Regions from separate parts of the Homo sapiens genome. Here region 2 is linked to region 1. Evidence: promoter capture Hi-C in human tissues and cell types (Jung and others, 2019). All regions are on one chromosome and are shown on one strand. Each heading gives the region's core, a stretch centred on a gene start or on the middle of the fragment in contact. The rest is flanking DNA. Distances are from core to core; before and after follow the strand shown. Region 1 holds the start of PRKAG1 (protein kinase AMP-activated non-catalytic subunit gamma 1). Region 2 overlaps TMBIM6 (transmembrane BAX inhibitor motif containing 6).

Region 1 (4,406 bases), core at 1,217-3,716:
GAGACACAGTCTACATCTGACAAATAGACTCGCAATTTCTTCCAAACTTCTGATCTACATTTCCAATTATTTGTTTGACAACCATAGATGTCACAGAGACTCCTCAAATGCTTGAATACGAAACAAAACATTTGTCCCTCCAATCCTATTATTCTCGCTGTGGTTCCCATCTTGTTTTTTTGTTTTGCACAGCTGTCTTCTTAACACTTATCAGCTAAGCTGGTATGTTAGAAATGTCTCAGATCCATCTCTCTCATTGCCAATATCACAGCCTTAATTTAGGCTTTTACCTCTCACCTCTGCAACGTTGTTTAAACTGGGGTCCTTGGCCCAAATCTATCTGTTCTTCAATTTATCTTTCATGCTTTCACCAAGTTTGTTCACCAAAGCATCTCAGATTTGGAAGGGACTTTCATCCCCATTAACAAGAAACTTTACTTTTCGAAGTAGCTCAGTCCATGTACAGAAAGCTGCTATGAACATTCCTAAAGGACATTCACTGACTTGCTCATAAATCTTCCATGGGTCCCCTATTACAAAACAAAGTTCAAATTTAGCATGGTGTGTAATACCTTCAACCTGATCTTAGCCTGCTTTTCCAGTCTTTTCTCCCACTGTGACCAAAATCCAAAGCCAGCAACATCATGCCGCTGGCTCACCCCCAGTTCTCTACATACCCCAATTTCAGTGCCCTTGCTCACACTGTTCTCTCAATTTGCAGTGCCCTCTCCTAGGTCCAAAGTAATTTTTCTCTCAGCTATTCTGTCACAGTCCTCTGTTTTCATATTGATGACAGCATTTATTATAGTCTACCTTTAAATAACAGCTGTTGCTGGCTTGCCCTCACCATCACTCCAGTTAGGCTGAACATTTTCAAAGCAGGAGTTTTCTTTCTTTTCTTTTTTTTTGGAGACAGGATCTCACTGTGTCACTCAGACTGGAGTGCAGTGGCATGATCTCAGCTCACTCCAGCCTCCACCTCTTTGGATCAAGCGATCCTCCCACCTGAGCCTCCCGAGTAGCTGGGACTACAGGCACACACCACCACCACCACGCCTGGGTAATTTTTGTATTTTTGTTTCTGTCGAGACAGGCTTTCATCATGTTGCCCAGGCTGATGCTGAACTCCTGAGCTCAAGCAATCCACTTGCCTTGGCCTCCCAAAGTACTGGCATTACAGGCGTGAGCCACCACACCTGGCTGAGTTTTCTTTTTCCTCTTTTTAACTTCTACCCCAGAGCCTAATCCAGTACATAAAGTGTAAAGGCTAAATTAGAAAATCTATATAAAAATGCTTTGTAAACCATAATACATTTACAAGTAAGTAGAATATGACATGTCATTTTAAATTTAATGGAATTAGACTCCTTATTTTTGTTTAAGATTATCCTGATTAGTCAGAATTGGCTCCCTTGCCTGGGAGACCAACTGCGAATCATTTTAGTACTTTGGTCGGTTTTCTTTTTGAAAACCTGAAAGAAACAACCTCTCTGTGAGCAGAGAAACGGTGTGGCAAAGAATTACTCTGGGCATGTAATCCAAAGCAAAGTGAACCTGCAGTCCTTTCGTAACTACAGTAGCAGATGATAAAAACCAAGATGGAAAGAGTTACTCTGCCTGAAAGAAGACACATGGTTAAAAACTGTGGAGAGGGAAGTGTATGGGAGGGGTTACAGAGCGCTAGAAAAAGACTCCTGAGAGTGAGGGTGGGTGCAAACATGTAGCAGGCAACCCGCAGCATCTGTGGGAGGGTGACAGGGCCCTGCCACAATTGGTCAATGCCTGCTCGCCAAGAATGAGCTATGCCAAAACCCCTGCTTAGAGTCGCAGAGCGGGCCATGACCTAAAATTGTCCAGGGACACATCGGCCTCTAACACTGCAAGATTTCCTCTTTCAAGCAAACCTCAATTCTCGGTCTTATTAAGGGAATGTGACTTCACTGGACGCAGTATAAAGATCTTCAGATGTCCTCCTGCCGGGGATTGCAGGGATCACAGAAAGACCATCGAGGTCCAGGAGCTACCTGCAAGCGGAGATCCCTCTGGACGCCCCGTGCCTCACCCAGCAAAGCCGGCTCACAACCCTGCGCTCTCAAACCTCTAAAAGGGCTTGAGGTGCCAATAGGAAAGGAGGCCCGAGATTGCCACGGCATACGTGGGCCCCAAGGAGGGAGCCAGGAGTCACTGCCTGCTTGGGCTAAGGGTACCGCGTACGGAAAGGCGGCGGGGACGCGGCCCAGTTCCAGGAGATGCGCCCAACGAAGAAGCGGAGGAACAGGGTCACGGGATAGGGCAGACACCCGGCTGCTTTTTGTTTGCTAGACACCAGCGCCAGCCCCTGCCCGGCCCTCCCGGTCTCCTAAGGGTTGGGGGGGTGTCTTAGGCTCCACAGCGCCCCCGACCGCCCTCCTGCACTCCTCACCGTCTCCATTGCAAGAGGCGCCCGGCTTGGTTTCCTCGCTTTAGGAAACTCTCTTGGGGCAGGCCCCGCCCCACATCCGGTGCGGCGACGCCACTTCCGCCCACGTCATGGCAGTCGCCAGACTGGGGCGGAAGGCAAGGAACCCACCCTTCCGGCGGTGGCGGGCCTCGGTAACCGCCCTCCCCCGGGTCCTCGCGGACCGCACGGATCCGGCTGACGGCGAGGGTCATGGGACGGAGCCGCTTGTATTTAAAATGTTCTTTTTTTATTTGTCGTTTAAAAACAAACTTGGAAGAAGCAAAATCCAAAACTTGCCCTTTGCCTCTCGCAACATAAATATGTACAGTTCAGAATGATCGCTGATACAAAACATGCCAAGGACAGGGGCGCTGAGGGTGGAGGGAGAGAGGGCGCTTTAAAAAAGGGAACCATTTCATCCGTTGTTACGAAGGACCAACCTTGCTGTACAGGATACACACAACACAAAATAAAGTCTTCACGGGATTCACACTTGTCAGCGATTTATTTTTTAAAAAGGGGGAGGGTCCTGGAGGTGAGGGGAGAAGACTGTAAAGGGGAAAACTGAAAACTGAGTATGTGCGAGTGTAAACCAACCCAAAATACAAACACGGGGGCGGGGGGTGGGGTGGGGGATTCTGATGCAATTATACAGGCAGGGTACTTAAAAAAAAAACCAACCAAAATTCCAACCTTGTAGCTTGGGTCTGAGTTATAGTTTATATAAAAATTAAAAACTGTATAAGGTTTCTTCACTAAATTCTACAGGACTATCGGATACCTAGCATATGCTTACAAAGTCTGCCCCATCCCCTTTTCCCAATCCCAGGGCCCAAGCCCCAAACACAGCCTGACTCACGGGAGCCAATCTCCCCCTCCCTGTAGCCTAGACCTTCTGCTCTCGGAAAAGGAACATCCAAGGGCTGTGGCTTTGAGGGCAGCAGCCCAGTCTTCCTACTGTCTGATTTAATTACAGCGGTTCCTGTGGGAGTGGGGGCTGTTATTCTCTTAAACATTTGCAGCTTGAAACAGTTGAGGAAGCAGCTTTAAAAAAAAAAAATCTCCCTACCCCCAACAATCCACAACCCCCCAAATTCAAAACAAAACAAAAACAAACCTAAAATCACAACAGCGACCAAGCTCCCCCTCCAGCAGGCCCGCCCGTCCACCACCACCAAGCCCACCCCTACACTCCAGACATCTGATTCTTGAAAATATTAATTACAAAATGCCCTTTGCCCACAGCCCCTAGAAGAGAACTGCATATAAGCTTCATCTTCATCCCCACGGTTCCCTACCAGAGAGGGGTTTGGGGCCTCACCCACCCCTTACCTACTCCCACCCCCAGGAAGAGGTTCAACTGCAGCACAAGCTTGGGCAGAAAGGGGAAGGAAAGGGAGGCAAGGAACCCATCACCCTCTGGCTCCCCCTGGGGTCAGCTCTCTTTTGTGCGTTATAACATAGTCCAACTATACAACAGGGGGTGGGAATTGCCCAGCCTCTATACCCCCATCTTACAGCAGTCACAGCCAGGGGGTGGGGAGTGGGGTGGGGGGTGAGGAAAAGGGCGGTAGGTCGGGTAATGGAGGGGGCCCCCCCACAAGGGGAGCTCCATGTGTCCGCCCCACACCCCCCTACCATTTATAAACTGGTTTTGTAAAAAGAAAATAGATATATTTATATAGAATATATAAAGCACAAAAATTAGTAGTTTTACATTTGCTCTCCCCGGGGGGTGGGGGGAGAGGGGAGGGTTCTCACCTCCAGCCGGCTCCCCCATGCCCCACAAGACTATGTACAATCCCATGTATAAATAGATAAATACCCCCCACCCTCCCCGCGCTGACACTAAGCTCCCCCACCCCCACATCACCACCCCTTCCCACCAGACCAGCAGCAGTTTGGTGACTGAGGGAAAGTGGGAGCTCCGGGCCACACCCTGCCTCACTAGGTATGGGCATGCCAC
Region 2 (4,440 bases), core at 1,095-3,594, 730 kb after region 1:
TTGGGGGGTGTCGAGGCCTCTATTCTGCCCCAGAGCGCTGGCGAAGGCCCCTTCTCAGCCCGCCTTTTCCTTTCTCCCGCTCCTTCTCCTCTACTAAGTGTAGACGCAGGGCCCCTTGGCCTAGCTTCGATCGTTCGAATTCAGAGCACGTCCTTCCGAGGTGAAGGAACGCGAAACTCCACCCATCCGATTGCTGTTCGGCTGCGGGCGGGTCCTTTGGTCGGGCTGACCCTGGGTGAGCGGCCCGGAGCCAAGACTCGAGGTAGGGCCTGGCGGGCGGGTGATGTCACACTCCTCTGTGACACGCGAGGCTCCTCAGTTACTTAGCCAACGGCAGAGGCGGGAAGTGAGAGGAGTCTGGGGCTGGGGCTGCCTTCCAGGCCCACGGGGCGGCCCCGCTCTTTTCGGATTGGTTACCTTTGGGCAGGTGAGGTGGCTTTGCTTTGCTTGGTCTTGAGGTTTTGTGGGCGTCTTTCTAAGTCTGCTCAGCAAGGGCGTCGTTGGGCAGTTTTTATCTTGGGCCTACTTGCTGGACCTGTGGTAACAAGTAGGCTTTGGTATCTTTGTATATTTACTGAGTGTAGAATTACTACCCGGTGCCAGCCCGGGCTGCTTGGGGTCATCAGCCTTTCATTGACCACCCCCACAACAAAAATCACTATGAACTTGAGACTGTGTTCTAGCAACTTGTGAATGTGTAACCCAGTAGAAGGGCTGACTGTGCTTGAAACAGACAAGGATTTTAAGGTCAAAGGTAAATAAATGGCAAATGGACTTTTCTAGTTACTTATTGATATTTATTTACAGTTTATCTTTTGTATGTGTGGTTTAAGAATTGAATTCTGGAAAGATACCGGAATTGCATAAACACATTTCTTATGACCTGCGTATACACACTTTTTTCTGTAATTATTGTATTTACACTCTTTGGTGTTTTCTTATTCTTTGTGTCTAATATTTTTGTTCTGGCCTAAAGAATATGTTGACATTTAGATTCTCTGCCGCCACTTTCCTCCAGTAGGGACAGAATAGTTGAACCCTTGAGAAATACAATCTGTACTTTTGATCCATAGTTTGCTTCTTCCGTTATTTATCTGGTTGTGGAAACATGGTTTAGTACCTTCCTCCTCTTTTTTTTTTTTTTTTTTTTTGAGGCAGAGTCTCACTGTCGCCCAGGCTAGAGTGCAGTGGCGCAGTCATGGCTCACTTGAACCTTGACCTCTCCTGGCTTAGGTGATCCACCCCAGCCTCCTGAGTAGCTAGGACCACAGGTGGACGTCACCAGCTCCAGCTAATTTTTGTATTTTTTGTGGAGATGGGGTATCACCATGTTGCCCAGGCTTACCAACTCCAGAACTCAAGCGATTTATTTATTTATTATTATTATTATGTTTTTTTTTTGAGACAGTCTCACTCCCTTACCCAAGCTGGAGTGCAGTGGTGCAATCTCGGCTCACTGCAACCTCCGCCTCCCTGGTGCATTCAATTCTCATGCCTCAGCCTCCTAAGCAGCTGAGATGACAGGCGCGCACCACCATGCCCAGCTAATTTTTGTATTTTTAGTAGAGACGGGCTTTTGCCAAGTTGTCCAGCCTGGTCTCGAACTCCACACCTCAAGCGATTCGCCCGCCTTGACCTCCCAAATTGCTAGGATTACAGGTGTAATCCTTTCCTAAAGAAAAAGAGTCATCTCTCCTGAAGAATAAGAAAAGGTAAAATTAATCTAGATACTTAGCATTTTCAAGTTATTTTCCCTGATTATAGATATAGTTCGCGCTCTTTATACAAATGCTGAAAATGCAGAAAAATGTCATAGGAATCAATGTATGTTTTGGGAGGGTTTTTTTGTTTTAAAGATTTGTTTTCACCTATGGCTGAAACTTTTGAAAGCTTATATAAATGAAAGCTTATTTTTCTACTGTAGGATGGAATAGTAAAAAGAGCACTAGACTATAGTGGTCAGAAGACCCCAAATCTGGTTCTGGCTCTGCTATTTAACTTTCTAATGTTGGTCAAATCAATACTAATGTTTGTTTTAGTACTTTACGTTGATTTCACACAGATTTTCTTATTGGCATTCAGTAGAGCAGGTATTGATCATCATCGTTATCTTACAGATGAGGAAGCTGAAATAACCTTAGGTAAAATGATTTTTCCTAGGTTATATAGTAGAAAGTGGCAGCACTTGTGACACCAAATCCTGTCCTCTTGCCACTATTACATTGCCTTTTTGAACTTAAAAAAGATGTATAAAATGGGCCTAATCTTTCCCTTTCCTTGTGGGTTGATGTGTGAGGATTGAAGGTGATACATATATAAAAGCACCTTAAAAGTTATAAATTTTATATAAATATAGTCAGGAGTATTAGTATAGAAGGTACTACTGCTGGCCTGACGAGTTTCATTTTATTTCGTAAACTGCCCAAGGGTATTAATTTTCTCTAGAGAAACCATTGAATATTCTGATGCTCTAACTTCTGATTTTTTTTCCTTTACTACTTTGACCTGGTTGTAGAATCTGGTAGAAATGTCTTCTACCACTCTGTTTTGTTCCCCCAGAGTTTCTAACCAAACTGCATGCAGCCCTTCGTAGTTTTTATACACATTTTGTTTTCCAAAGATGGTGTTCGAGACCAAGGAGAGAAAGGCTGTCTCCTTGACTTAAAGGTTACCTAAGTGACCCCTTGAGGTAGGTTCCACTCTGAGCCAGCTGGGGAATGTTGATTTGAGGTTACAGCACTCTTGATCTGATAATAGGGTCTAAATTTGCTCTAGAGACTTTGTAGTGCTTAAATCTTGGGGATAGCTGAGCTGAACCAGATGCAAGCTCTGCCCTCAGGGTGAGAAGTTTCTGCACAATTAACTGGAATCCAAAACACGTGAAAAAGGAGCTTCACCAGTGAGGGTGAAGTGGGTATGCTGTTTGTCTTAATTTATGTGTGCTCCCCATTTGGGCTAAATATGGTGTTATTAGGGAGGGATTACTGGTTTATACTGGAAGAAGATTATGTATTTAGGATTTTGGGGCCTTCTTAGGATTCAGTATCTGTCAAACGTTATAGAGAGGGAGATGAAGTAGTGTCAACGTTTGGTACAAAAAATAATTTACTGAAGGCAGTAGGCATTTCATCTCCAGTTACTGGTTTGGTTTTGAGGCAGCCCCCTGGAGGAGATGGATTCAGTATTAGCTAATCCAGGGATTTGGGTCCAAGTTAAGGGAGAGGCGGGGACATCTAGGGTGTCCACCTGGGAAGATCAAAGCTTGGTCCTAGTTGAATGAAACAATTCCTTGGATGGTTCCGAAACTGAACTGACCTACCTCCTGGGAGTGGCAGGGAAAGCATCAAGCTTTTGCGCATTTACTTCATCAAATCCTTTACCATATCAGATTATCACTTAGTGGCTATTAGGCTGTCTCAAAATGTCCATGGCCCTGTGGGACAAGAGAGATAGTATAAATGTGCTAGAAGAAAGGTATGCCATTTAAACAAAAGTACAGACGGGCCCCAATTTATGATGATTGGACTTAATGATTTTTTACTTTATAATGATGCAAAAGTGCTACCTGTTTGCTAGAAACTGTACTTCAGGCCAGGCATGGTGGCTCATGCCTGTAATCCCAGCACTTTGGGAGGCCGAGGTGGGCAGATCACTTGAGGTCAGGAGTTTGAGACCAGCCTGGCCAACATGGCAAAACCCTGTATCTACTTAAAATACAAAAATTAGCTGGGCATGGTGGCACACACCTGTAATCCCAGCTACTTGGGAGGCTGAGGCATGATAATCACTTGAACCCAGGAGGCAGAGGTTGCAGTGAGCTGAGATCGTGCCACTGCACTCCAGCCTGGGCAACAGAGCGAGACTCTGTCTCAAAAAAAAAAACCCAGCACATTTAGAATTTCCATCTTTTCCCAGACTAGGGATATCTGGTATGATATTTTCACATGAGATATTTAACACTTTATTATAAAGTAGGCTTTGCGTTAGATAGTTTTGCCCAACTTCAGACTAATGTAAGCGTTCTGGGCACATTTAAGGTAAGGTAGGCTAGGCTTAAGCTATAATGTTTGGTAGGTTATATGTAGTAAGTGCATAAATTACGATACTTTCAGTTTACAATGGGATTATTGGGATGTAACTTCATTGTAAATCGAGCATCTATACTTTTACCAGTAATGAGATTTTTCAAGTGCCTTTATGTTTCAGTTTATAATTTTCTTTTCTCTCTTTTTTTTTTTTTCTTTTTTGAGACAGAGTCTCACTCTGTCGCCCAGGCTGGAGTGCAGTGGTGCAATCTCGGCTCACTGCAACCTCCGCCTCCTGGGTTCAAGCCATTCTCCTGCCTCAGCCTCCCAAGTAGCTGGGATTATAGGCGCCCACCACCACGCCTGGCTAATTTTTTGTATTTTTAGTAGAGATGGGGTTTCATTGTGTTGGCTG

The links. Contacts are between HindIII fragments. The study calls those that stand out against the background at their distance.
Region 2: a fragment that was not itself captured here is called in contact with the fragment with the promoter of PRKAG1 in region 1 in 1 of the 25 tissues and cell types used here (hippocampus).

The regions. Positions count from the first base shown.
Region 1 is chr12:49,016,310-49,020,715 of GRCh38, forward strand. PRKAG1 (protein kinase AMP-activated non-catalytic subunit gamma 1) reads right to left here and starts at 2,467. Exons shown (of 12, transcript NM_002733.5): 1 at 2,423-2,467. The coding sequence starts at 2,431. It overlaps KMT2D (lysine methyltransferase 2D), which reads right to left. Exons shown (of 55, transcript NM_003482.4): 55 at 2,669-4,406. DDN-AS1 (DDN and PRKAG1 antisense RNA 1) reads left to right here. Exons shown (of 2, transcript NR_147179.1): 2 at 1,927-2,931. RefSeq lists enhancers at 1,508-2,098, 2,671-2,870. The HindIII fragment of the contact is 13,264 bases long and covers 1-4,406 here.
Region 2 is chr12:49,741,854-49,746,293 of GRCh38, forward strand. The region is part of intron 1 of TMBIM6 (transmembrane BAX inhibitor motif containing 6); the gene reads left to right. Among named protein-coding and RNA genes, the nearest start is that of TMBIM6, 2.5 kb to the left of the region's middle. RefSeq lists an enhancer at 1-20. The HindIII fragment of the contact is 3,558 bases long and covers 566-4,123 here.